Linked DNA regions of Homo sapiens: all the other regions are linked to region 1. The links are contacts of gene promoters, found by promoter capture Hi-C in blood cells and fetal thymus (Javierre and others, 2016). All regions are on one chromosome and are shown on one strand. Each heading gives the region's core, a stretch centred on a gene start or on the middle of the fragment in contact. The rest is flanking DNA. Distances are from core to core; before and after follow the strand shown.

Region 1 (3,306 bases), core at 246-2,745:
CTCCAAAAAGTGCTGGGATTACAGGCGTGAGCCACTGCGCCCGGCCAATTTTCAGTATTTAAATAGGCATTCTACTACATCCACATCTGGAAAGTCTAAGTATATGAGAGTCTTATTAAGCTTCAAGTTTTAATGATCAGTTTGCAGGAAATATAGAGGACACAGTAGCATCTTAAATGAAACACTGTGAGTAAGCAATGAGGAAATCCCAAAGACTGAAACACTACTCAGGACAATTAACCTGGTCTTATCAACAAAAGAATTGTAAACAATAAGGAAATAAATGAAAAAGGACATTGGAGAATTGAATAGACACATTGATGTTAATAAATACACAAATTGGCTGGGAGCAGTGGCTCATGCCTGTAATCCCAGCACTTTTGGAGGCTGAGCCAGGTGGATCACCTGAGGTCAGGAGTTCGAGACCAGCCTGGCCAACATGGCGAAACACCATCTCTACTAAAAATACAAAAAATTAGCCGTGCTTGATGGTGGCCACCTGTAATCTCAAACTACTCAGGAGGCTGAGGTGAGAGAATCTCTTGAACCTGGGAGGCGGAGGTTGCAGTGAACCTAGATCGCACCACTGGACTCCAGCCTGGGTGACAGAGAGAGACTCTATCTCAAAAAAAAAAGAAAAAAAATTACCCTTCCCCACTGTCCCCTCTACACCCCCTCTCTATGCTCTTTTCTTCCTAGTAAAGCATTACTTTCTTTCTAGCTCAGTGATGCCACTGGATGTGATGTCTTCTATCTCCTTTTGTGTTGTCATCTTTATTAGAGTCAACTCCTTGAGGGCGAAGACTTAATAAATACATACATTTTTAAAATACAAAATAATATTTCAGTTATATTTCTAAAAGGTCTATCATTTAAAGATTAATATTGAATTAATATTGAATTAAATCCCAAATATTTTTGGGATTTAAAAAAATTTAACATTGATAAGGGAACCGGGTGGAAATATACAAGAAATAAGACTGGCCATAAGGTAATCATCATGGAAACAGGTAATAGGTATATACAGGCCCATTGTGTTCTGCTCCTCTACATGTTTGAAATTGCACACAGAAGGAAAAATAATTACAGGAAAAATGTTAATATTTCTGTTAAGGCATTTGCAATACAGTGCTTGTGATCTCCAACATCTCTGCTGGAAGAAAGTCAGGCTGGAAAGAGGAAAGCACTCACAGCATGTTGATAAACAGCCTAGCATGCAGAACCTTTGCTGAAGACAGTGACTAACTTCAACTTCATGAACTGAGAATGCTCTTACTGTGCTGAAATCTCGAGTCAAAGCTGGAGGCAGGAACATTTTCCCTGACTAAAGGAAGTGAAAAATGCCATCTCAGCATTTCATAACTTTTCTGATCCAGGTGTGATCTCACTATTTGTAAAGCCCAGCCCTTCCCAACCTGCAAGCTCACCTTCCAGGACTGGGCCCAGCCCATGCTCTCTCATAATATATAAGCTACTGCTGGAGCCCGATTCCTTGTCCTGCTTCTCCTGCCTCTCGCCTCCAGCCTCCAACGCTCGCCACAGCCCTCTCATCTCCTGGAACCATGGCCAGCACATCCACCACCATCAGGAGCCACAGCAGCAGCCGCCGGGGTTTCAGTGCCAACTCAGCCAGGCTCCCTGGGGTCAGCCGCTCTGGCTTCAGCAGCATCTCCGTGTCCCGCTCCAGGGGCAGTGGTGGCCTGGGTGGTGCATGTGGAGGAGCTGGCTTTGGCAGCCGCAGTCTGTATGGCCTGGGGGGCTCCAAGAGGATCTCCATTGGAGGGGGCAGCTGTGCCATCAGTGGCGGCTATGGCAGCAGAGCCGGAGGCAGCTATGGCTTTGGTGGCGCCGGGAGTGGATTTGGTTTCGGTGGTGGAGCCGGCATTGGCTTTGGTCTGGGTGGTGGAGCCGGCCTTGCTGGTGGCTTTGGGGGCCCTGGCTTCCCTGTGTGCCCCCCTGGAGGCATCCAAGAGGTCACCGTCAACCAGAGTCTCCTGACTCCCCTCAACCTGCAAATTGACCCCGCCATCCAGCGGGTGCGGGCCGAGGAGCGTGAGCAGATCAAGACCCTCAACAACAAGTTTGCCTCCTTCATCGACAAGGTGAGCCAGTGCCATGCCCTCCATCGGGCACTTCAGGGTCCCCAGACCAGAAGAGCAACACCTTCCTGCTAGGGAGACCTAGGAGGGAGGGAGAAGGGGATTCAGCCCAGCTCTGCAGAGAGTGCAGGTGGCTCTCGGTGCACAGGAGGCAGCACAGATGGGCATCACTCCCCCATGGGATCTCTGGAGTGGCCCTCACTCCTGCCTAGGGAGAGCCGTAACTTTTCATAACCCTGAAGCACAGATGAGGCCATCAGAGAGTGGAGTAGGTTAATTCTCCCCTCTGAAGTGTTTAAGAGATTACAAAGCAAATGCCAGGAGTATATGGGCTGGTAAATTACACTCTGGGGTCTGGGTAAGAGGAAAAAGATTTAGAAAGAAAAGGAAAAGATAATCTGGCTGGATTAAGAAAAAAAGGGACATAGAAACAACTGTAAAACATGGATAAATGCTAATTAATTTTAAAAACAGAGAATGACCATAACATCAGAATATTTGAGAGGAGACACTAAATGGGAAAGTAGACTGAAATGTAATCATGAGTCAACATATAATATCTCTCCTAACTAAGATCCTATCAGTAAAAAAACTGTGTACAATATATCAGGTAATTAGTATTTTTAAACTAGATTTGTGATTGTGCCTGGAAAAAGAAGAGAAGAAATGTTGAAACTCACTGATGATCAATAGCTTACAGCGTGAGAACACCTCAATGGTCCATGGGACAATTTCTCTAGTGAGACTGGTGGGGTGCAAAGGAGAAGGGGTTGGGGGAGCAGAGCTCAGCCTGAGCCTCTCCACATGCACTGTAGTAGCCCAGCACCATGGGGACCTCCAAGACCTGCCAGGAAACTGGATACCAGACACTTTTTCTTCCTTCCTTTGCCTGGAAAATGACCATCTTGCTTCCCTTCCAGGTGCGGTTCCTAGAGCAGCAGAACAAGGTTCTGGACACCAAGTGGACCCTGCTGCAGGAGCAGGGCACCAAGACTGTGAGGCAGAACCTGGAGCCGTTGTTCGAGCAGTACATCAACAACCTCAGGAGGCAGCTGGACAGCATCGTCGGGGAACGGGGCCGCCTGGACTCGGAGCTGAGAAACATGCAGGACCTGGTGGAGGACCTCAAGAACAAGTGAGGACTCCATTTCCTGCAGCACACACTTCAAGACTATTGGGTGACCAGGGCCAGATGTGTGTAGGATTC
Region 2 (3,306 bases), core at 516-3,015, 490 kb before region 1:
TATGCAGTACCTACTAGCTGCCAGGCATGCAGCCAAGCCTTGGGGACTTTGTTCTCATTATTTTCTCACCTTTCCCACTGCACAAGTCTTAGCATCTCTCAGGTTTCACTTCTGCCACAAATCATGGCCATCATCCTCCCCGTGAACACCTGCAGCATTTACTGCCATGACATTCCTTGGCTTTGAATTAACCTCGTGACCTTTCTTGTATCTTTATGTTCTTAGGGCCGAACCTGAGGGTGGGGACCTGGGTCTAAGCTGTCCCACTGGTGGGCACCTTCCCTTCCTTTCCTGAACATTTTTGGAATGTAGGAGTGACCCCAGAGGAGGATTACAAAGCCCTTCTTCAAAGGAGAGGTTGAAAGTGGTGCCCGGGTTCTATAAACATTTGCACTGAGCATTCCTAAATGACAGGGAGATTTATAGTTTGAGTGCCTTCCCATTACGAAGACTGTTTAAGTGACTTGGGAAAGTTTCTTTAAAAAGAAAAAAAAATGGAGCAGATTAAGATGAGATTTTATTTTTCTTTTTTTCCTTAAAAAGAAAAAAAGGCTAGGCGAGGTGGCTCATGTCTGTAATCCAAAGGCTAGGTGAGGTGGCTCATGTCTGTAATCCCAGAACTTTGGGAGGCCGAGGTAGGTGGATCATTTGAGGTCAGGCGTTTGAGACCAGCTTGGCCAACGTGGTGAAATCCTTGTCTCTACTAAAAATACGAAAATTAGCTGGGCGTGGTGGTGCACACCTGTAATCCCAGCTACTGGAGAGGCTGAGGCGGGAGAATCGCTTGAATCTGGGAGGTGGAGGTTGCAGTGAGCTGAGAAGCCGAGACCACGCCACTACACTCCAGCCTGGGTGACAGAGTAAGACTCCGTCTCAAAAAAAAAAAAAAAAACAAATTCTTCCTGGGCTTTCTTAAAGCTGGGGTGTGTGTGAAGCGAAGCTGAGGAAGTTCAATTGTTCTCCCACTAAGTTCTCTTTCCTGGAACAAAGAGGACCTGCAAAGAGAGTGAGAGGACTGCTGGCATCTTGAAATATTCTTCTACTCTCCTTTGTCCTCTTTTCCTTGGGTGAGGCATGCAGAGACTCCTCTTGGTTTGTTATTTGCTCATTTATTTGTTCATTCATTTGCTTATTCATTCAAAAGCTAGTAAGAGAAGATTGTTAAATTTGAAAATTTTGCTTCCCAGAATTAAACCATTTTAAATCAACCATGACAGCAGTATTTATACCTTGGATATTGGCAAATGCTATAGGTTATTAAATAAAATAAAATAACATTTTATTTACAATTTAATAAAAATTACAATTTCAAATTTTTGTCTTTAAAAAAGAAAATAACAACCTGCTGTTTATGTGTTGGAATTGTGTTATGTATCAGGGCATAAGAGTGAACAAGATAGTCCAGTCTCTGCTCAAAGGGAGCTTACAGTCTGGTGCTGCACTGTCCTGTCCAATCTGGTAGCCATTAGCTACTAGCTACTGCTGTGGTTATTAATTTATTTTTTAAAGTTTTTAATTTTGGCTGAGTCTGGTGGCTCATGCCTGTAATCCCAGCGCTTTGGGAGGCCGAGGCAGGTGGATCACCTGAGGTTAGGAGTTCGAGACCAGTCTGGCCAACATGGCGAAACCCCGTCTCTACTCCAAATCCAAAAAAAAAAAAAAAAAAAAAAAATTAGCCAGGTGTGGTGGTGGGCGCCTGTAATCCCAACTACTCGGAAGACTGAGGCAGGAGAATCACTTGAACCTGGGAGGCGGAGGTTGCAGTGAGCCGAGATTGAGCCAGTGCACTCCAGCCTGGGCAACAAGAGTGAAACTCTGTCTCAAAAAAAAAAAAGTTTTTAATTTTTGTGGGTACCCAGTATGTGTATCTATTTTAGGGTACACGAGATATTTTGATACAGGCATACAATGCATAATAATCTCATCAGGGCATCCATCACTTCAAGCATTTATCCTTTATGTTACAAACAATCCAATTATACTCTTTTAGTTATTTTTAAATGTACAATAATTTATTTTTTTTGAGACGGAGTCTTGCTCCATTGCCCAGGCTGGAGTGCAATGGCATGATCTTGGCTCACTGCAACCTCTGCCTCTCGGGTTCAAGCAATTCCCCTGCCTCAGCCTCCCGAGTAGCTGGGATTACAGGCATGCACCACCATGCCTGGCTAATTTTTGTATTTTTAGTAGAGACGGGGTTTTACCATGTTGGTCAGGCACGTCTTGAACTCCTGTCCTTGTGATCTGCCCGCCTCAGCCTTCCAAAGTGCTGGGATTACAGGCATGAGCCACTGCACCCAGCCTTAGGCTGGTGCTTTTTAAACTTTTTTTGCTTCTGGGGAGTGGGTGATAGGGAAAGTTCTGCCAGCCTGGGAGGGGCCCACTAGAGCCTGCTGCTCCAGTGTGGATTGTGGGGAGAGGAAAAGGAACTGTGTGCTTTGGGCCCAGATCACTGGAGTGCCCTGAGTCTCTGAGAAGTTTACCCTACATCCCTCCTGTGGCAGCACCATCCACTTCACCAGGATCTGACCAGGGCCTTCAGGGGGACACAGCCTCCCCGGATCTGAGCATCACTATCATTCTAATTCCTTGGGCTGTTTCTGTGTAGATAATTATTTTCCAGCTCATTCAGGCAGGTGAGGTTGAGGCCAGCAGTGCAGCTAAATCCTTACACCGTGACTGGGGCTGCTTTTATACAGGTTAGGGGAAGAATAATCACTTATGGCTGAAATCTAATGGAAGAGGGAGTTCTGTGTAACTCTAGTGGGCAGAGCTGAGTTTAGAAGGTTAGTAGGAGGCAGATTTCAGCCCAGTAGAAGGAACAATAATGTTCCAGTAATTATACAATTATTATCCAACAGGGGCTATACTGTCATAAATTCTTCAAACGGAGGCCAGATGTTAGGAAGGCCACAAAGAGGATTCCTACTGGGAGAGGCCAAACTTGAACCATCTGTTTATTTATTTTATTTTATTTATTTATTTTTTTGAGAATGGAGTTTCACTCTTGTCACCCAGGCTGGAGTGCAATGGCACAAACTTGGCTCACTGCAACCTCCGCCTCCCGGGTTCAGGTGATTCTTTTGCCTCAGCCTCCCAAGTAGCTAGGATTACAGGCATGCACCACCACGCCTGGCTAATTTTGTATTTTTAGTAGAGACGGGGTTTCTCTATGTTGGTCAGGCTGGTCTCGAACTCTTGACCTCAGGTGATCCACCCACCTCGGCCTCCCAAAGTGCTGGGATCAGAGGTGTGAGCCACCACACCGAGCTGGTAAGTATATTTTTATTTTTATTACTATTTTTT
Region 3 (3,306 bases), core at 590-3,089, 470 kb before region 1:
GGAGGCTGAGGCAGGAGAATCGCTTGAACCCAGGAGGCAGAGGTTGCAGTGAGCCAAGATCGTGCCGTCGCGCTCCAGCCTGGGCAACCAGAGCGAAACTCTGACTCAAAATAAATAAATAAATAAATAAATAAAAGTAATGTGTCCTACATCGCATGGGGCCTGAGAGGACAGGCAGGCACTCCTAGGACCATCATAGCAGCGACCCAGCCCTGGTGGCCAGTGCCCCTCCCCTCTTTTCTAGGACTTTTCTCCAAGCCAGTCCTTCCCCTGTCCCCCCTTGTAAGGGCTGTCTGGATTAGAAGCCTGGCCCCAGGGGACTGCATCCTCCAAGATGCTCTCCCCAGCCTCTGTGTGAGAAGGATGGAGGTAGGGAGGCTTTCATGCTGCCTGCCCCCTGAAGCTGAATGACCATCCCTGCTGAATGAAGTGTTGGGGGGAACCCTTAGGTGTTTGGCCTTCAAGTTTGTCAGCTCCAGCAGCTCGTTTTTCTGGCAGGGCCTGGTATGACACATTTGGCTGTGTTCTTTGCTCTGGAGTGGACCTATTGATTCTTATCGAGCTACCAGCTGAGGGGGAAGGGGAGGACAAATAGTAGGGCAGACCTGGGAGAGAAGGGACCCTGGAAAAGCCTGGCCAGTGGACCTGCCAGGTGGGAGGCAGAGCACAGATAAAGAGCCTGAGCCTGGATTGTTCCTGATCTGTCACCTAATGGTGGGGAGAGCCCCACAGTGCTCAATGGGAGCCAGCCAGGGGGCAGTCAGGGTGGAAGCTGGCCAGGGGAGGGTCGGGGCCTGCTGAAGGCTGGGAGGCAAACGGGATGCAAAATAACATACAAATGAATGCCCACTGGTTTTGCATACAAGGCTTCTGGGAGGTAAGAGGTTCCAGTCAGAGGGGTCTCTCCTGCTTTCACCTTTATATTCCCCCACTGGATTCCAGAACTGTCAAGTTGGGCAGTATTTTATAATAAAGTATGTGGAGTCAACAAGCTACGTACTGCCTTTTACTGTTATTGCTAAGCTTTAAGTCAGCCAGCCTGGATACTTTGCTAGCTGTGTAACCTTGGGGAAGTCACCTAACTCTGAACTTCAATTTCTTCACTTGTACAGGGAAAACAGTAAGACCTGTCCAGTCTATTTCCTCAGGTGGCAGTGAATGTGAGTGTAAATTGTCACTCACTCATTCATCAAACAAATACTAATTATTTGTACTGGAGCCTTCCTTCAAAGTAAGGAAGGCTTCAATATATACAGGAGGGCAGATAAAGGGGGTCAATTTAATTCGAAAGACGGGCTCAAGGGGTTTGAAGTCTGTCTCTCTGAGTCATTTAAAAACCCTGGGGCACTTTGAAATCTACCAGCAATCAAAACAGATTCTAGAATTTTTCTCCAAGCTAATTCCCAGGTCCTTGTCTGATTCCTGCCCCACCCCAACTGCTAGGAAACTTCTGGGACCTGTGGAGGTGCAGCGTGGGGGCTGGAGAGGGAGAGCTGCCAGCTAGACTTTATCTCTCCTACTGATGTCGATGGCCACATTCCTGACTTCTTGCAGCATGGGGCAAATACCGACCTCGGGCTTCCAGCACCAGCCTGCCCCTTTCCACCACTTCCAGATTCCTCTGTGGCTCAGGGCTTTTTCACTTTGTCAGAGAGCCTCTTGGAGAGCTGGGGTGAAGGTCTCGGCCTCCAGATTCCCAGCACTAGGGTTCTGGGGTGGGGGTGGGAAGCAAGGTGGAAAGGGGGATGGCGTGATTGTGAGGACAGTCCCGGGAAAGGGTGGAGCAGGAGGGGCCCTGGTGAGAAGCTCCCAGAACAGACACAAAGAGTAATGAGCCTCGGCAGGGGGGAATCCGGAAAGAGGGGAAATGGTTCTCCACCCACCATCAGTCCTGCATTCCAGCGTCCAGCAGAAGGGGAGTGGGAACCTGTGAGGCAGGTTTAACTTCAGAGTAGACTCAGAGATGACCCGATAGGGGTGGGTCAGCTCTTACTGCCCACTCCACATTCTCCCACAAAGGGCTTGAGCTGATGGCTCTGGGGAAACTAGGTGGTGGAGAGATGAGAGGATTAGGGAGGATTGGAAGGCCTGCAGTCCTTCCGCCTTTGCTTTAACATTTAGGCTGGAAATTCCTTGCTCAGCCTGGAGGAGGGAGGTGTTCGGAACAGCAACTGAGGTGTAAGGATGGGGTCTATACACAAAACAGGGAGAGACTGATTCCCATCCTCTTCTTTAAAGACTGAGGGTGACTCCAGTGTGTTGGAGACAGTGAGAAGGCCCTGTGGTGGGGTGGGCTGGAGGGAGGAAGGGATCGCCTGGGAGGCTCCCCTGGGCTCCTTTCAGCTACTCTCAGTGGAGGGTATACCCATGCAGGGGGCCCTCCCACAGGAGAAATCCCAGGGCTGCTGAGTTAAGGGTAGAGCTGTTGAGACAGAGGGAGATCTGGGGTAGAACCCAAAGGAAAAGGAATCTGGGGTGGAATGGGAATCCTCCTGCCCAGCCCTGCATCTGGCACATAGGTGGAGCTCCGTAAATACTTTAGGTTTAAGTAATTAATAAACATGGGGTGCTAGGAGAGGTCAGTGGGGGTCATCAGAAAGTGCAGTCAGGTAGACTGCAGAGAGACAAGAGGTGGGGGCAAGGGTACAAGCTTCAGAGGCAGCTGCGGAGCAGGGGGAGGATGCGGGTGGCAGCTGGGTGCAGGACCCAGTCTGATATCAAGACTTCTGGAATTTCAGCACCCTATTTGGAGTCCCTGGCACTGCCTGTGGAGGTGGGAACGGGTTCTCAGGGCTTGGGCCAGGCCCTCTTCCCCAGGGGTGGGAGAGTCGAGGAATGCCCTGACACTTAGTATCATTGCTTCGGTTGGGTTTGTGCCCTAGGGGTTATTTTCCAAGGATAAAGGAAGAGGAAGGGTCAGCGCTGAGAAGCGTGTGGCTGCCCAGAAACCTCCAGGCGCTGAAGCTCAGAGAAGTCGGGGAACCTGGCCCTTCTAGGAGCCCCTCAGCTCCCTGGCCCAGCCCCACCAGGAATGGCCTTGCCTGTGCTTATGTCCTTTGCCCATTCTGACCCTGGTGCTGTTGGCTTCTCCTCAGGTGCAACCCCAGTATCCCAATGCCATATCCCCCAGCCTATCGCCTCACTCAAATCTGCCCAGAGATTAGGGGAGGGCAAAGGGATGAATAGGGCACTTGGTGTCAAAAGACCTGGATTCGGCCAGGTGGCTCATGCCTGTAATCCCAGCACTTTGAGAGGTTGAGGTGGGAGAATCGCTTATGGCCAGGAATTTGAGACCAGCCTGGGCAG
Region 4 (3,306 bases), core at 220-2,719, 450 kb before region 1:
TGGGAGGAATAGTCCATCTGGGAGGGCTTCCTGAAGGAAGTCCTTGGGGGTAGAGCCAGGCTAGAGGGACACAAAGAGAGAGGAAGGAGGGGCCCTGGGCCTGTGCACTGCATAAGTGAAGAGGGAGTTTGTGCAGGAGCTGGCAGTCAAGTAGGATAGGGTCAGGCCATGGGGGCCTGGGGGTGGAGGTTTAGTGTGGTGACATGTGGGAGCCATCGAAGCCATAGAACTGTGGGTCCAGGAGGAGGACTAGGGAGTTTGACTTTTGCAGCTGGACAATTGTGAGCAAGAAGTACTGGTCCTCTCCCTCAGAGAGGCTTTCCCTCCTTTGCCTTCCATGTTCTGGAGGCTGCTGTTGCTACTTAAGCTTCTCTTAATGTTCCCTGGATGGTCACCCAGGAAACTTGGGGAGGCAAGGAAGGAGAGAGAAGGTAGAATGTGGCCTTGGGGAATAGATGGCCTCTGCCTGGAGTTCTGTAGGGAATGCATAAACACACAATTAGTTGTGTTGCCATGGGAACTTGACTAACAGGTCCCTGAGGCTAAGCTGGCCTGGGCTGGCCTGGGCTTAGCCCATTCCCACCATCCAGGTCAACAGATTTTCCTAAAGGCCTATGAATGGGTCATTGTATCTGAGTTGGGGTTATCTTAGTCCTTAGAGACCAGGGAATGGGGTGGGGGCAGGTTGGTTACAGAGTGGTGGGTAGCAGGTCTTTTCTTTAGCTGAGCTGCGTGCTCTCTAGAGTCTCTCTGTCTCATTTTCTGTCTTACAGACATATATGCACACATGCAGGGTCTTGCTATGTCGCTGGTTGTCCAGGCTGGTCTTGAACTCCTGGCCTCAAGTGATCTTCCCTTGGCCTTCCAAAGTACTGGGATTACAGGTGTGAGCCACTGTGCCTGGCTGGGCACAGGCTTACCTGGCAGGCTGGTTCAGCCATTTGTGAATTCGTTCATCATATACTGGTGGAGTGCCTGTTAGATGTCTTTCTAATGCTGTGGATGTGACGGTCAACAACATAGTCAAGGTCTCTGCCCTCATGGGGCTGTCCATTTTTAATTTTTTTTCAGATGGAGTTTCGCTCTTGTTGCCCAGGCTGGAGTGCAATGGCACAATCTCAGCTCACCCCAACCTCTGCCCCCTGGGTTCAATCAATTCGCCTGCCTCAGCCTCTTAAGTAGCTGGGATTACAGGCATGTGCCACCATGCCTGGCTAATTTTGTATTTTTAGTAGAGATGGGGTTTCTCCATGTTGGTCAGGCTGGTCTCAAACTCTTGACCTCAGGTGATCTGCCTGCCTTGGCCTCCCAAAGTGCTGGGATTACAGGCGTGAGCCACCGTGCCTGGGCTGGGGCTGTCCATTTTGATGGGGAGAGGTCCCCCAAGTCTGCCAGAATCCCTACTGTAGGAGAGGTAGTACAGATGCTCAATAAATAAATGTAATATAGCTCTTTTGGATTGCTAAATAAAATAATAAACATGTTTTGAATCCTCCCTTTTGAGTTATTGACATTATTACATCTCTTAATGGACATAATTGGATCCTGACTATAAAACAGCATAATTGAAAAGAGAATGTTCAAGCTCTAAAATTACTCCAGACTTGGGTTCAATTCCTGTCTCTGTCACACTAACCAAAGGACCTTGGGCTTTAGTTTCCTTGTCTGTAAAATGAGAACAATGTTACCTTCCTCATGGATTAGTTTAGGATTATAAATAATAGGTGCGGTGGCTCACGCCTGTAATCCCAGCACCTTGGGAGGCCAAGGCAGGCAGATCCCCTGAGGTCAGGAGTTCAAGACTAGCCTGGCCTACATGGTGAAACCCTGTCTCACTAAAAATACTAAAATTATCCGGGCATGGTGGTGCAGGTCTTTAGTCCCAGCTACTTGGGAGGCTGAGGCAGGAGAATAGCTTGAGAACCCAGGAGGTGGAGGTTGCAGTGAGTCAAGATCGTGCCACTGCACTCCAGCCTGGGCAACAGAGCAAGACTCCATCTCAAAATAAAATAGACTAAAATAAAATAAAATAATATATAATATATGTAAGAGATCTGACACTTTGACACTTGGTAGGAACCCTGAAAATGAAAGCCATGGCTGGGCATGGTGGCTCACACCTGTAATCCCAGCACTTTGGGAGGCTGAGGCGAGCAGATCACTTGGGGCCAGCAGTTTGGGACCAGCCTGGTCAACATGGTGAAACCCTGTCTCTACTAAAAATACAAAAACTTAGCAGAGAGTGGTGGTACATGCCTGTAGTCCCAGCTACTTGGGAGGCTGAGACAGGAGAATTGCTTGAACCCGGGAAGCGAAGGTTGCAGTGAGCTGAGGTAGTGCCACTACATGCACTCCAGACTGGGTGACAGAGTGAGACTCTGTCTCAAAAACAAAAAAACAAAAAAGAAACCCATCATGATCACCATGGTTCCCAATCCTAATCACTACCACTGCCACCATCATTGGCAGGGAAAGGAGCCCTGGGTTGAGAGTTGGGGAAAGCAAGTGGGCGTCAGTAGGCAGGGCTCTGTTTGCATGGCTAGCTCCCTAGGAATTGGATTTGCAAGCTTCTGTTTTGCATAATGGCGGATTTTTACATGCTATTTCTTTATTACTATCCTATAAGCTCCTCCTTATAGACCCAATTGCCACCTCCTAGTTACCCTCCACCCTGCTGAGCTAGCACTTTCTTCCACTTGACCACCTACCCTGGGAAGAGGCAGCAGACACTGTTCTGTTCTGCAAGGAGGTTATTTCATGCAGGGAAACACAAGGCTTAAACTCTCACAAGGCAAATGTATCAAAGTGATGTGAACACAAGTTCCATGGGGGAGGGTGGTCTGAAGGTGGTGAGGGAATGGGGGAAATTGTGTGGAGAAAGGCTTTGGGAAAGGCTGGGGGACAAGCAGGGAGGGTTGGTGAGAGTCAAGCTAACATGTCTTGAAAACCTGCTATTTTAGGCACTGTTCCTTACCTGATGATCATGTCAGTCTTCTGAGGTAGTTGTTACTATCTGCATTTTCAGCTGGTGAAGTAACTCTTAACACCATTAGGAAGTGGCTGCGAAATTCTTCTGGTTGCACCCTCTGTCCTTTGGGTTTTGGTCACACATGGCTTTGGGGCAGCAGAACATGCATGGGCAGGCTCGGGGCAGCTGCACCTGCGCGGCGTCTGTCTGGCGGGGCTCAGATGCCAGTTCTTCCCTTCACAGCTGTGTGAATGTAGGCACTTTTCCATCTCGGCCTGGTGGGATCTTTATGAATTTAAATGAGGTGATGCATGCAGCGCATACAGTAGGCCTGCATG
Region 5 (3,306 bases), core at 348-2,847, 410 kb before region 1:
TTTGAGATGGAGTCTCATTCTGTTGCCCAGGCTAGAGTGCAGTGGCACGATCTGAGCTCACTGCAACCTCTGCCTCCCAGGTTCAAGCAATTCTTGTGCCTCAGCCTCACCAGTATCTAGGATTACATGTGCGCGCCACAACACCTGGCTAATTTTTGTATTTTTAGTAGAGATGGGGTTTCACCATGTTGGCCAGGCTGGTCTTGAACTCCTGACCTCAGGTACTCCACCCACCTCAGCCTCCCAAGGTGCTGGGATTATAGGTGTGAGCCACCTTGCCTGGACTGTTTTTCTTTTTTTGTTTTTCTTGAGGCATGGGGAATAAGGAAGGGAGTTGATGGAAGCAGTTTCAGGAAGATGGGCCCTGGCATCCTCTGCAAGGGACACATGATTAAAGTCAGCACAGTGGGATAAGCCCTGGGTGAGGGGGCAGAAGACCTAGGTGGGCACCCTGGCTCTGCCAGTCACACAGGATCTATGACCCTGAGGATGTTGCCTCCCTGCTCTGAACTTCAGTTTGCTGCCAGTGAAATGGGGACAATCAGATTGCAGTGTGTTCATGAGGATTAAAGGCAGTAATGTTTATTAAGGTGATGCACGTAAAGATGTTTTGCAAACTATAAATAAAGATGCATGCTCTTTCCCTTAGGATCCCCTTCGAGATGAACTATCTCTCTGACCCCTTCTGTGTCCCTCACCCACCCCAGGGCAGCACATTCACTTTCCATAACCTCTATTCAGGTTTTCTTTTTCTTTTTTTCATTTTGAAAGCAGGAACTGTTTATTAATTGACCAGATTAGAAAAATAATCAAGGTAGCCGGGCACAGTGGCTCATGCCTGTAATTCCAGCACTTTGGGAGGCCGAGGTGGGCGGATTACAAGGTCAGGAGTTTGAGACCAGCCTCGTCTCTACTAAAAATACAAAAAATTAGTTGGGTGTAGTGGCAGGTGTAGTGGCAGCTACTCAGGAGGCTGAGGCAGGAGAATCGCTTGAACCCAGGAGGCAGAGGTTGCAGTGAGCCGAGACCATGCCACTACACTCCAGCCTGGGCAGCAGAGTGAGACTCTATCTCAAAAAAAAAAAAAAAATTATGGTGGACCCTTAGTTCATCCTTCTAATAAGCCTATTGATGTAGTCTTCCCTGTTGCCAACATTCATTTTCTACAAAATGGGTGGTCTTTTTCTTCATTCCACCTCATGGAGAGGATAATTTGAAGGGCCACAGGAAGTTATTTGCTTTTTTGAAGAGTTTTCCAACAGTATAGATCTCATGAATCAGAACCTCCATGCAGATGATGCTGTATTTACCAAGAGGTCAAGCAATCAAAGTGTTCTCTGTCAAGGCAGCTCACTTCTTATTAATTTTGTCATAACCACACTTACAGATTAGTTCATTTACTGACTTCATATTTGGGTACCCCCATGCAATATATGGTTCTACAATCCTCAGCATGTTAGTGGAAGCCTTGTTGAGCTTCACAAAGCTTCCATTGAAGATTTGACAAAGGTGAAAAAGTTGCAATACCTTTTGGTCCTGTGGGCTCACACATTGATACCTCTGATTCTGATGACCGCCAACTTGGTTGGGTTCTGCAGGTACATAGAGGTTGCCAGCTTTGCTTGCCATCTGAGCCAGTTGAATCTCAGTTCTATCTATCTGCCTATATTCCTTGTGATAGTGCTTCACTTTTCCATAGATAAGCTTCCTCCTCGCCTTTCTTTCTTTCTTTTTTTTTTTTGAGACAGAGTTTTGCTCTTGTTTTCCAGGCTAGAGTGCAATGAATGGTGTGCTCTTGGCTTACTGCAACTTCTGCCTCCTGAGTTCAGGCAATTCTCATGCCTCAGCCTCCCGAGTAGCTGGGATCACAGGTGCCTGCTACCACGCCCGGCTAATTTTTGTATTTTTAGTAGAGATGAGGTTTCTCCATGTTGGCTAGGCTGGTCTTGAACTCCTGACCTCAGGTGATCGGCCCTCCCAAAGTGCTGGGATTACAGGTGTGAGTCACTGAGCTTGGCTCTCCTTGCCTTTTGAAGTATCGTTTGGGCAAACTTCTTTCTCAGGCAGGCAAAATAATATGGAAAAAAGCTCAGGTTTTTCCAGGACACCTCCATGGTTCCAGCCAGGAAAGAGCTCCATTCAGGTTTTCCTCCTCATGTCTGTATTGGGTTTCAGTTTCCAAAGCACTCAGGAAGGCTCTGCCTTGTTTGATCCACACATGTGCCCTGTGAGGCCGATTAAAACCCCATTTTATAGGCCCCGGAGGGGCAGACTCTCAGGGTTGCCTAGCTATTTGGTGGCCGCATGGATCAGAACAAAGGGCTCTAAACCTGAGCTTTTTCCAGATTATTTTTCCTGCCCAGATGCTTCTAACTTAGGAGAAACTTGCAGGCTTGGAGGAGAGGACCCGAGTGGGACCATGCTAGTTGGGCCTGCCTTGGGGTGGAGAGGGACAGTCACCACCTTTGCTCCTGCGGGTCTCTTTATCCAGGCTCCTGGCGCCCCCTGGAGGGCATTGTGGGGAGTGTCCAGCCAAACACCCCGCAGTGCCACCGTCTCCTGGCTTCCAGGTGGTCCCCTGACACTACATTTCCTTCCAGCTCCGTCTACTTTTGGGTATTTATTAAAACAGTAAGACTTGTGAAATTAAATAATTCAAACTTAAAGGTGTTGGAACTTAAATTATTTTGAGCCTTGAGTGGAGGATAACTATGTGGCCCGTGCCACACACATGCAGCTGTGACTTCCTCCTTTTCCTGTAAAAGATTAGAAATAACCAAATAGTGTCAGAGATAAGACTCCCTCAGATCATTACCCCTCCTCATGGAATGTTAACGCAATCTTCTCTGGAATGTAGCAAGCTGTAATCAATCAAATCGGTGTGACCTATGCACGGGCTTTGTATGGAAAATGTGGAACTCTGTTAGACTTCCCTGTTTCTGCCTATAGAAGTAAAACCCTGGGAACACTGACTCCATTCCTTTGAAGTCTGTCTTTTCTGGGAGGCCATCTGGGTGGCTAGCCTCTAACTTTTGTTTTTTTGTTTTAGAAACAGGGTCTCACTTTTTCATCCAGGCTGGAGTGCAGTGGCTCAGTCTCAGCTCACTGCAGCCTCTACCTCCTGGGCTCAGGCAATCCTCCCATCTCATCCCCCCAAGTAGCTGGCATTACAGGTGCATGCCACCACAACAAGTTAATTTTTTGTAGTTTTGGTAGAGACAGGGTTTCACCATGTTGCCCAGGTTGGTCTCGAACTCTTGAGCTCAAGTGATCCGCCCATCTCGGCCTCCAGAAGTGTGGGATTAC
Region 6 (3,306 bases), core at 599-3,098, 390 kb before region 1:
TCGGCTCACTGCAAACTGCCTCTTGGGTTCAAGAAATTCTCCTGCCTCAGCCTCCTGAGTAGCTGGGAATAGGGGCCTGCACCACCACGCCTGGCTAACTTTTTGGTATTTTTAGTAGAGACGGGGTTTCACCATATTGGTTAGGCTGGTCTTGAACTCATGATCTCAGGTGATCCACCCACCTCGGCCTCCCAAAGTGCTGGGATTACAGGTGTGAACCGCTGTGCCAAGCCCCCCTCTACATCTTTAAAACTACAAACTTTCTGCCGGGAGTGGTGGCTCATGCCTGTAATCCCAGCAGTTTGGGAGGCTGAGGTGGGCGGATCACCTGAGGTTGGGAGTTGAAGACCAGCCTGACCAACATGGAGAAACCCCATCTCTACTAAAAATACAAAATTAGCCGGGCGTGGTGGCACATGCCTGTAATCCCAGCTACTCCAGAGGCTGAGGCAGGAGAATTGCTTGAACCCGGGAGACAGAGGTTGCGGTGAGCCAAGATCGTGTCAATACTCCAGCCTGGGCAACAAGAGCGAAAACTCCATCTCAAAACAGACAAACAAACAACAGAAAAACAAAACAAAACAAAACAATAAAAAACCAACCAAACAACAACAAAAAAACCCTATAAACTTTGACTTTAAGAAGCCAGGCAGTGGGTGAGACCTGCCTGTTCTACCCCCTCTGCTTCCCCACCCAACATCAGCCTTCCTCAGTTCTCCCTCTCTCTGCCCCTTCTTCACCCACAAGCTTCAGCTGGCAGGGCTCGCTGGGCTTTCAAGCCACCTTAGCAGGCAGAGTCATTGGAACAATGGATCAGGCTGACTCAGGAGCTGGGAGAGGGCCCTGGGCCATACAAGCACCCTCCCCACCTGTCAGGTCAGGCCAGCAAGCAGTGCCTCTGGGGCCAAGGGAAACTGGGCTGATGTTGCAGCAGAAAGGAGTGAGGTTAGACCTGAGAGCTTCCTGATGGTAAAGGAGGCTGCAGCAGGTCAGGGAGGTCACAGAGCCCGTGTTCTTTCCTGGAGGGCAACAGGTGCACTCCACTCTCCCCTAGACGGGATTATTCGTTGCCATCTGAAGCACCCGGCACAGTGCTTGGCACTGAGAAGTGCCCAGTCAATGTCGATGGGTGGATAATAGTATGAATGAGCTTGTCTGAAGTGGGGTGTTGAGGTCCCCCTCCCTGTGTCTCCATCCTAGTCTCAGGGTTTGTTCCAGGCTGTCCATATTGCAAGATGAAATGAGTCCTGGCCTAGTGGGCTCTAGTCCCATCCTTTTTATGTGTCCTTGGCCTGTTGCTTTTCCTCTCTGGGCTTCAGTTTCTTGTGCAGTGAGACAGCGTGTTGGACGAGATGATCTGCAAGATCTCACTGCTCTGCCATTCTGCACTGGCAAGTGTTACGCCCCTGTGGGATGCTTTTGCTGTTGGCTTGCTCTAGGTGTGTGTTACTTTGGTCTTTTTTTTTTTTTTGAGACAGAGTCTTGCTCTGTCACCCAGGCTGGAGTGCAATGGCGCAATCTTGGCTCACGCAACCTCCGCCTCCCGAGTTCAAGCAATTCTCCTGCCTCAGCCTCCCAAGTAGCTGGGACTACAGGCATGTGCCACCACACCTGGCTAATTTTTGTATTTTTAGTAGAGATGGGCTTTCGCCATGTTGGTCAGGCTGGTCTCGAACTCCTGACCTCGTGATCGGTTCACCTTGGCCTCCCAAAGTGCTGGTATTACAGGCGTGAGCCACCATGCCCAGCCTACTTTGGTCTTCTTAACTAGAGTCTACGTTTCCCAAGGGCAGGCATGAATCTGGTATTGTTCTGTGTTGCCCCAGCACCTGCAGCGCTGGGCCCTCCTGCCTGGCTGTGCCCAGCATGCCGCTGTTTGTGCCCCCGAGCCCAGCTCACTCCACCCTCCCTAGCCCCGACCAGCTGTGTCACTGTCATGACCCAGAAAAGGTGGTTACCTGGAGGAGGGACCTGTGGGTTTTCCTTTTGAGGAGTAGGTGGGCTTCAGGGAAGAGCACATCAGCGGGTTTAGGGATTAGATTAGATATTAAGAGAATTTCCTCTCCCTTCCAGGATAGATTGGGAGAGATGCCTCAGTTTCTTGTTTCCCTTTTCTAACTCTGCTTTTCATTACTTCTCTCCTTTGGAAAAGTTTCCCAGACTAAACCTCTATGTTCTATCCCCAAGTCCTGACACCTAACGCTGCTCCTGTTTCTGGTCTTATTTTCTTGGGTTTGTGTGTGTTTGGGTGTGGGTACCACTTCCTCTGTCAGGGAATTTCTGAAACTTTTTTTGAACAGTGATCTCTAATAATAAATTCATTTTATATTACAGTTCTGCATGCGCGCACACACACACACACCCCAAACAAAATTTCATGGTGCAATATTACCCTTACTACCTGTGATGCACACTCATGTGCTGGTAAAGACTCATGCAATTGATTTCACAATCCACTAGTGGGTTGTAGCTTGCAGTTTTGAAAATACAGATCTCCTCTCAGATGGAAGTTCCTTGAAGACGGGCAGAACCTTACTTCCAACACCCAGGGCACAGCACTCAGATGGCCATGGGAGAGATGCTGGCGAGATGGTTGAGTGGGAGGGAGCTGGTCCATGTAATCCCCCACCCTGTCTCCCAGTCCGGGAGTTCCTGCTGCAGCTTCGACTGAACATCCTCAGGGTGTAAGAATCTTGGCAACTTTCCCCTGGAAGTTGCTCTTCACCCTCTGGGGTATTGGGAGGCTGTCCTTAGTAACAGGCCTCATAATATTTGCCAAATCAGGAGCTGTTGCTAGCAGCAGGGCACCCAACTGGCTGAACCTGATTGGGTCAGGGTTGCAGTGGCTGGGTACTAAGCCCTGGATGGGTGTGTCTGGACTCTCAACTCAAGTTCTTGTCTGAACACTTCCCTCTTCCCCTCTCAGGGTCCCCCAGAGTTGGAAGCTTTGTCCAATCCCCTTCCTCTCTCAGGCACCAGCAGTTTGTTCCTGGATGTGTGTTCCTGACTCCCAGCCTGGGACAGTCTCCCTTTCTTCACCCCTGGCCCATGGTGTGCTGGGCCTGCTTGAGCAAACTCAGGAGACCTGATTGTGTGCATCTCTTCCCAGCTCTGCATTCAGTGACATCATGGTGGCAGCTTGAAATCAGCCATGGAATATTTGCACCACGGAAAATGGCAAACACTACAGAACAGACTTATCTTCCCTCCCTGACAGAGAGCCCCTTGTGTAACAATAACACGCCACTGCCCCATCCCTGAGCAGAGTGCTGTGTGTTGCAGCAGAGTGGGAGCGGGTGTCCTCTC
Region 7 (3,306 bases), core at 551-3,050, 330 kb before region 1:
GGGGGAGAAGTACAGTGTACAGAGGCTGAAGGTTGCCTACAGGGCAGTTGTACAGATTGAAGGGGCATCCAACAATTATACACACATTGTCCATTGTAGGGCACCCTGGGGTAGCACCATTTCAATGCTGATCCTGGAATAAACCTGGAGGGAAGGGGTTTAAGTCTGCAGGTGGGGGGCATTTGATAGGTGTGAGAGAAGCAGGCCAGGGGTCTCTGCTGAATATAGAGCAAGAAGTTATGGAGCTTATGAGAGTGCTTATACTCTGTGTCTAGCAAGGCCTCCCTATTTTCATGAAATTCCATGCATGGGGCTAAATCTCACTGGCCCAACAAGGCTTTCAGGAACCTGTTCCAAGAATCAACAAGGTCACGGTTGTTGGAGGGAGGTGTGCATGTGTGTCATTCTCCTAGAGTTTTCATGAGCTGCTCACTTCCCCAGCTCCTCAGGGGTGCCTGGGGTTATGTCTGTGGTGCTGTCCCTGAGTGGCGAAGAATGTTGGAGGTGGAGCAGGTCTTCTGGAGCAGGAGTGGAGGGAGCTGTCTAATTACAGAAGCGGGGAGAGGACAGTCAGAGGTGGGGGTCTGGGTAGATTTGGGGACACCCTTTTTCTATATTGGACCAATTCCAAGTACCTGGAGCAGCACAGTCTCCCCTCTTCCAAAGATTTCCCAGCTCCTGCTCTGCAGTCTGACTCGAATCAGTTTGCTGCAGATGCAGAATGCACTCTCTGCCTTGGCCACCCTACTGTGCCTCCCACCCTTGACTGCCGCAGAGTTCATTCAGACTCCAGTTCCTCCAGCCCTGTGTCCATGGGGCCTCATGGTGTGCAGGCAGAAAGGCACGTCGTTTGCCCAAGACCAGTCCTTGCCCATGGGAGTCTCGTGCAGATCCAAGGTAGGCTCAGGGTTGTTCTGCCTTTGGGAAAGCGGGGACAGAGTAGCAAAGGGTTAATCTCAGGGGCTTGTGCTCTCTGGGCAGGGGACTTTGCCAGGAGCAACCTGGGCTCTGTCCTTCATCAGCCTGGCCCTAATATCCCCATTGTCTTAGGGCTCATTGAGCCCCATGTGTCAGAACAGGAAGTCTCTGCAGCTGCATTTGGTGGCTTTGGCTTCTTCCAAGGGCTGCACTCCTCCCCTGGCAAAATGCAGATGGGCTCTTTTTTTTTTTTTTTTTTGAGTTTCTGGGAGTGGTGAGGAGGAGTTAAAGGTTGGAACTAGGGGTGGAGCTTCTCAGGTTCACCCACCAGGAGGCTGCAGGTTGTGTTGGGCCTCACAGAGAGGCAAGGGGCAGGTTAAAGCATTTCTCATGCCCCCTGAGTGTGGGAGCAGCCAGCCTGAGCAGCCCTCCGTGCCTCTCAGCATCTCTTTGGTTGAACTCAGTGATTTACACTGCAAGGTCAGGCCGTAGATTATACGCGTGTATGTGCATCTTAGAATAAATGTGTTTGTATTCATAGGCACATGGCTATGTGAGTGTGTCAGCGTTTCTTATTTATATAAAAAGTCTCTTAGGTCGGGCACGGTGGCTCACACCTGTAATCCCAGCATTTTGGGAGGCCAAGGGGGGCGGATCATGAGGTCAACAGATCGAGACCATCCTGGCCAACATGGTGAAATCTCGTCTCTATTAAAAATACAAAAATTAGCCTGGTGTGGTGGCAGGCGCCTATAATCCCAGCTACTCGGGAGGCTGAGGCAGGAGAATCCCTTGAACCCAGGAAGCAGAGGTTGCAGTGAGCCGAGATCACACCACTGCACTCCAGCCTGGCGACAGAGTGAGACTCTGTCTCAAAAAAAAGTCTTCTATTTTACATAAAAAGGAAAAGCCCTCATGTTGGTCTCTGTTTCTAGAACAGTCCAGGAGAGTGGATCCTGGCCTTGATTCATATGTTTGAAACTGGCTGGCTAGTCAGAGGGGATTATTTGGGGTAAATATACTGCTGAGATAATAGACACCACCCTTCTCTCTGATCCTTCGAATTGGATTCTGGCCAGCTCCTAGTGCTTAGGAAACAGGGAGACATGGCTTGCATTATTTACCCCGTTGGAGGCCCCATGCTCTCCCTTTTCTTTTAAATCCTTTACCTCTAAGTATACGGAAATCACTTTTCACATCTGAAGAGCCCAACTGCAGGTTGGCAAATCTCTAACTTGGTTTATTTGGCTCATCTGCCCTGACTCCATTCCCCAAGATCTTGGCTCCCAGCCCTGGCTGCAGCCCCACCATCACTTTGGCTCAGGCACCTGTCAACTCCTGAACAACTGCTATGTTTGCATAGATCCCTCCCACCTCACCAAGACCCTCCGCTCTGGGTTCAGCCCTCTCAGTTCCAGAAAGTTCTCACCAATACTTCTGAAGTCTCCCTACCTCGTTGCTAGTAAACCCAGAAGGTTATAGCAAAGAGGGGCTTATTTCATGTCCCACTGTGGGGTTTTGTTTTAACTTGCTGACGGGGCCCAGGCTTTGTGTTCTAAGACCAGAGGACCTCAGAATAAGGCATGGCTGCTCCCATGTCTTGGGTGGATGTTCAGGGTTTAGTGAGACAGCTACGTGGGGAAATAGTTGAGGGGGCTGTGCCCCCTTTGTGGGCCCTCAGGACATGGTAACAGTGGGCCAACGAGGGACAAAGGGAGGGAGCAGGCTGAAAGGAAAAAAGCCATTTTAGCACCTGTTCCATTTTTTTTCCCGTGTTGATGGTAGGGTCTGAACAGTCATCTCGTTATTCCACTAAGAGGGCTGGGAGTGTAGAGTTGTGGCCATGAAGGGTCTTGGTGGTGGGAGCCCCAGGACTCAGGCTCATTGCTGCCCATGGTTTTCTGGTTTGGCTTTGGGTCAAGGTAGGATTGTTCTGCATCTGCAGTTTTTTTACTTTGAGTGTTGTGGATTTGATCCTTAAAAATTCGAGAAAGTGGGTGAGAAGCTAGATAAGCTGGGAAGACATTTTCTGGAGAAAGTGTTTGGACTGTCATTTGCCATCCACCCATTCATCCATCTACTCATCCATCCGTCCATCCATCCATCCATCCATCCATCCATCTATGATCCATCCATCATCCATCTATTCATCCATCCATCCACCCAGCCATTCACTCATTTACTCAACAAACCACTAGTCTATAAATTATTTATGGGCAGGAACCATGACTTTATTCATCTTGACATTCCAGGGCCACTGTGCTTGCCATATAGTAGCTGTTTAACAAATGTTAATTGAACAATGTTTACCAAGTGCCTAGTTTGTGCTGGGCAATGGGGACCCATTATACAAAGAAGAATTAGACTCTGTTTTCAAGGAGCTTTTAA

What was found. The method cuts DNA at HindIII sites, captures the fragments that hold promoters and counts their contacts. A CHiCAGO score of 5 or more calls a contact.
Region 2: a fragment that was not itself captured here is called in contact with the fragment with the promoter of KRT6C in region 1 in 6 of 17 cell types (M2 macrophages, M1 macrophages, naive CD8 T cells and 3 more); the score reaches 8.5 in M2 macrophages.
Region 3: a contact is called between a fragment that was not itself captured here and the fragment with the promoter of KRT6C in region 1, in 5 of 17 cell types (M1 macrophages, M0 macrophages, M2 macrophages and 2 more). The highest score is 6.5, in M1 macrophages.
Region 4: a contact is called between a fragment that was not itself captured here and the fragment with the promoter of KRT6C in region 1, in 5 of 17 cell types (M1 macrophages, M2 macrophages, M0 macrophages and 2 more). The highest score is 8.0, in M1 macrophages.
Region 5: a contact is called between a fragment that was not itself captured here and the fragment with the promoter of KRT6C in region 1, in 10 of 17 cell types (total CD8 T cells, total CD4 T cells, M1 macrophages and 7 more). The highest score is 9.8, in total CD8 T cells.
Region 6: a fragment that was not itself captured here is called in contact with the fragment with the promoter of KRT6C in region 1 in 1 of 17 cell types (total CD8 T cells); the score reaches 6.2 in total CD8 T cells.
Region 7: a contact is called between a fragment that was not itself captured here and the fragment with the promoter of KRT6C in region 1, in 1 of 17 cell types (naive CD4 T cells). The highest score is 5.1, in naive CD4 T cells.

Annotation. Positions count from the first base shown.
Region 1 is chr12:52,471,994-52,475,299 of GRCh38, reverse strand. KRT6C (keratin 6C) reads left to right here and starts at 1,495. Exons shown (of 9, transcript NM_173086.5): 1 at 1,495-2,102; 2 at 3,020-3,234. The coding sequence starts at 1,563. The HindIII fragment of the contact is 8,852 bases long and covers 123-3,306 here.
Region 2 is chr12:52,967,021-52,970,326 of GRCh38, reverse strand. No RefSeq gene overlaps it. Among named protein-coding and RNA genes, the nearest start is that of KRT18, 20 kb to the right of the region's middle. The HindIII fragment of the contact is 7,174 bases long and covers 1-3,306 here.
Region 3 is chr12:52,944,299-52,947,604 of GRCh38, reverse strand. It overlaps a transcript of KRT8 not described here. Among named protein-coding and RNA genes, the nearest start is that of KRT18, 3.2 kb to the left of the region's middle. RefSeq lists a silencer at 226-520 and enhancers at 1,471-2,066, 3,256-3,306. The HindIII fragment of the contact is 1,627 bases long and covers 1,026-2,652 here.
Region 4 is chr12:52,918,360-52,921,665 of GRCh38, reverse strand. It overlaps a transcript of KRT8 not described here. Among named protein-coding and RNA genes, the nearest start is that of KRT8, 15 kb to the right of the region's middle. RefSeq lists enhancers at 2,626-3,125, 3,126-3,306. The HindIII fragment of the contact is 2,200 bases long and covers 370-2,569 here.
Region 5 is chr12:52,884,186-52,887,491 of GRCh38, reverse strand. It overlaps the pseudogene RPL7P41. Among named protein-coding and RNA genes, the nearest start is that of MIR9898, 13 kb to the left of the region's middle. RefSeq lists a silencer at 2,393-2,687. The HindIII fragment of the contact is 218 bases long and covers 1,489-1,706 here.
Region 6 is chr12:52,859,769-52,863,074 of GRCh38, reverse strand. No RefSeq gene overlaps it. Among named protein-coding and RNA genes, the nearest start is that of KRT78, 12 kb to the right of the region's middle. The HindIII fragment of the contact is 2,198 bases long and covers 750-2,947 here.
Region 7 is chr12:52,803,079-52,806,384 of GRCh38, reverse strand. No RefSeq gene overlaps it. Among named protein-coding and RNA genes, the nearest start is that of KRT3, 8.6 kb to the right of the region's middle. The HindIII fragment of the contact is 4,113 bases long and covers 1-3,306 here.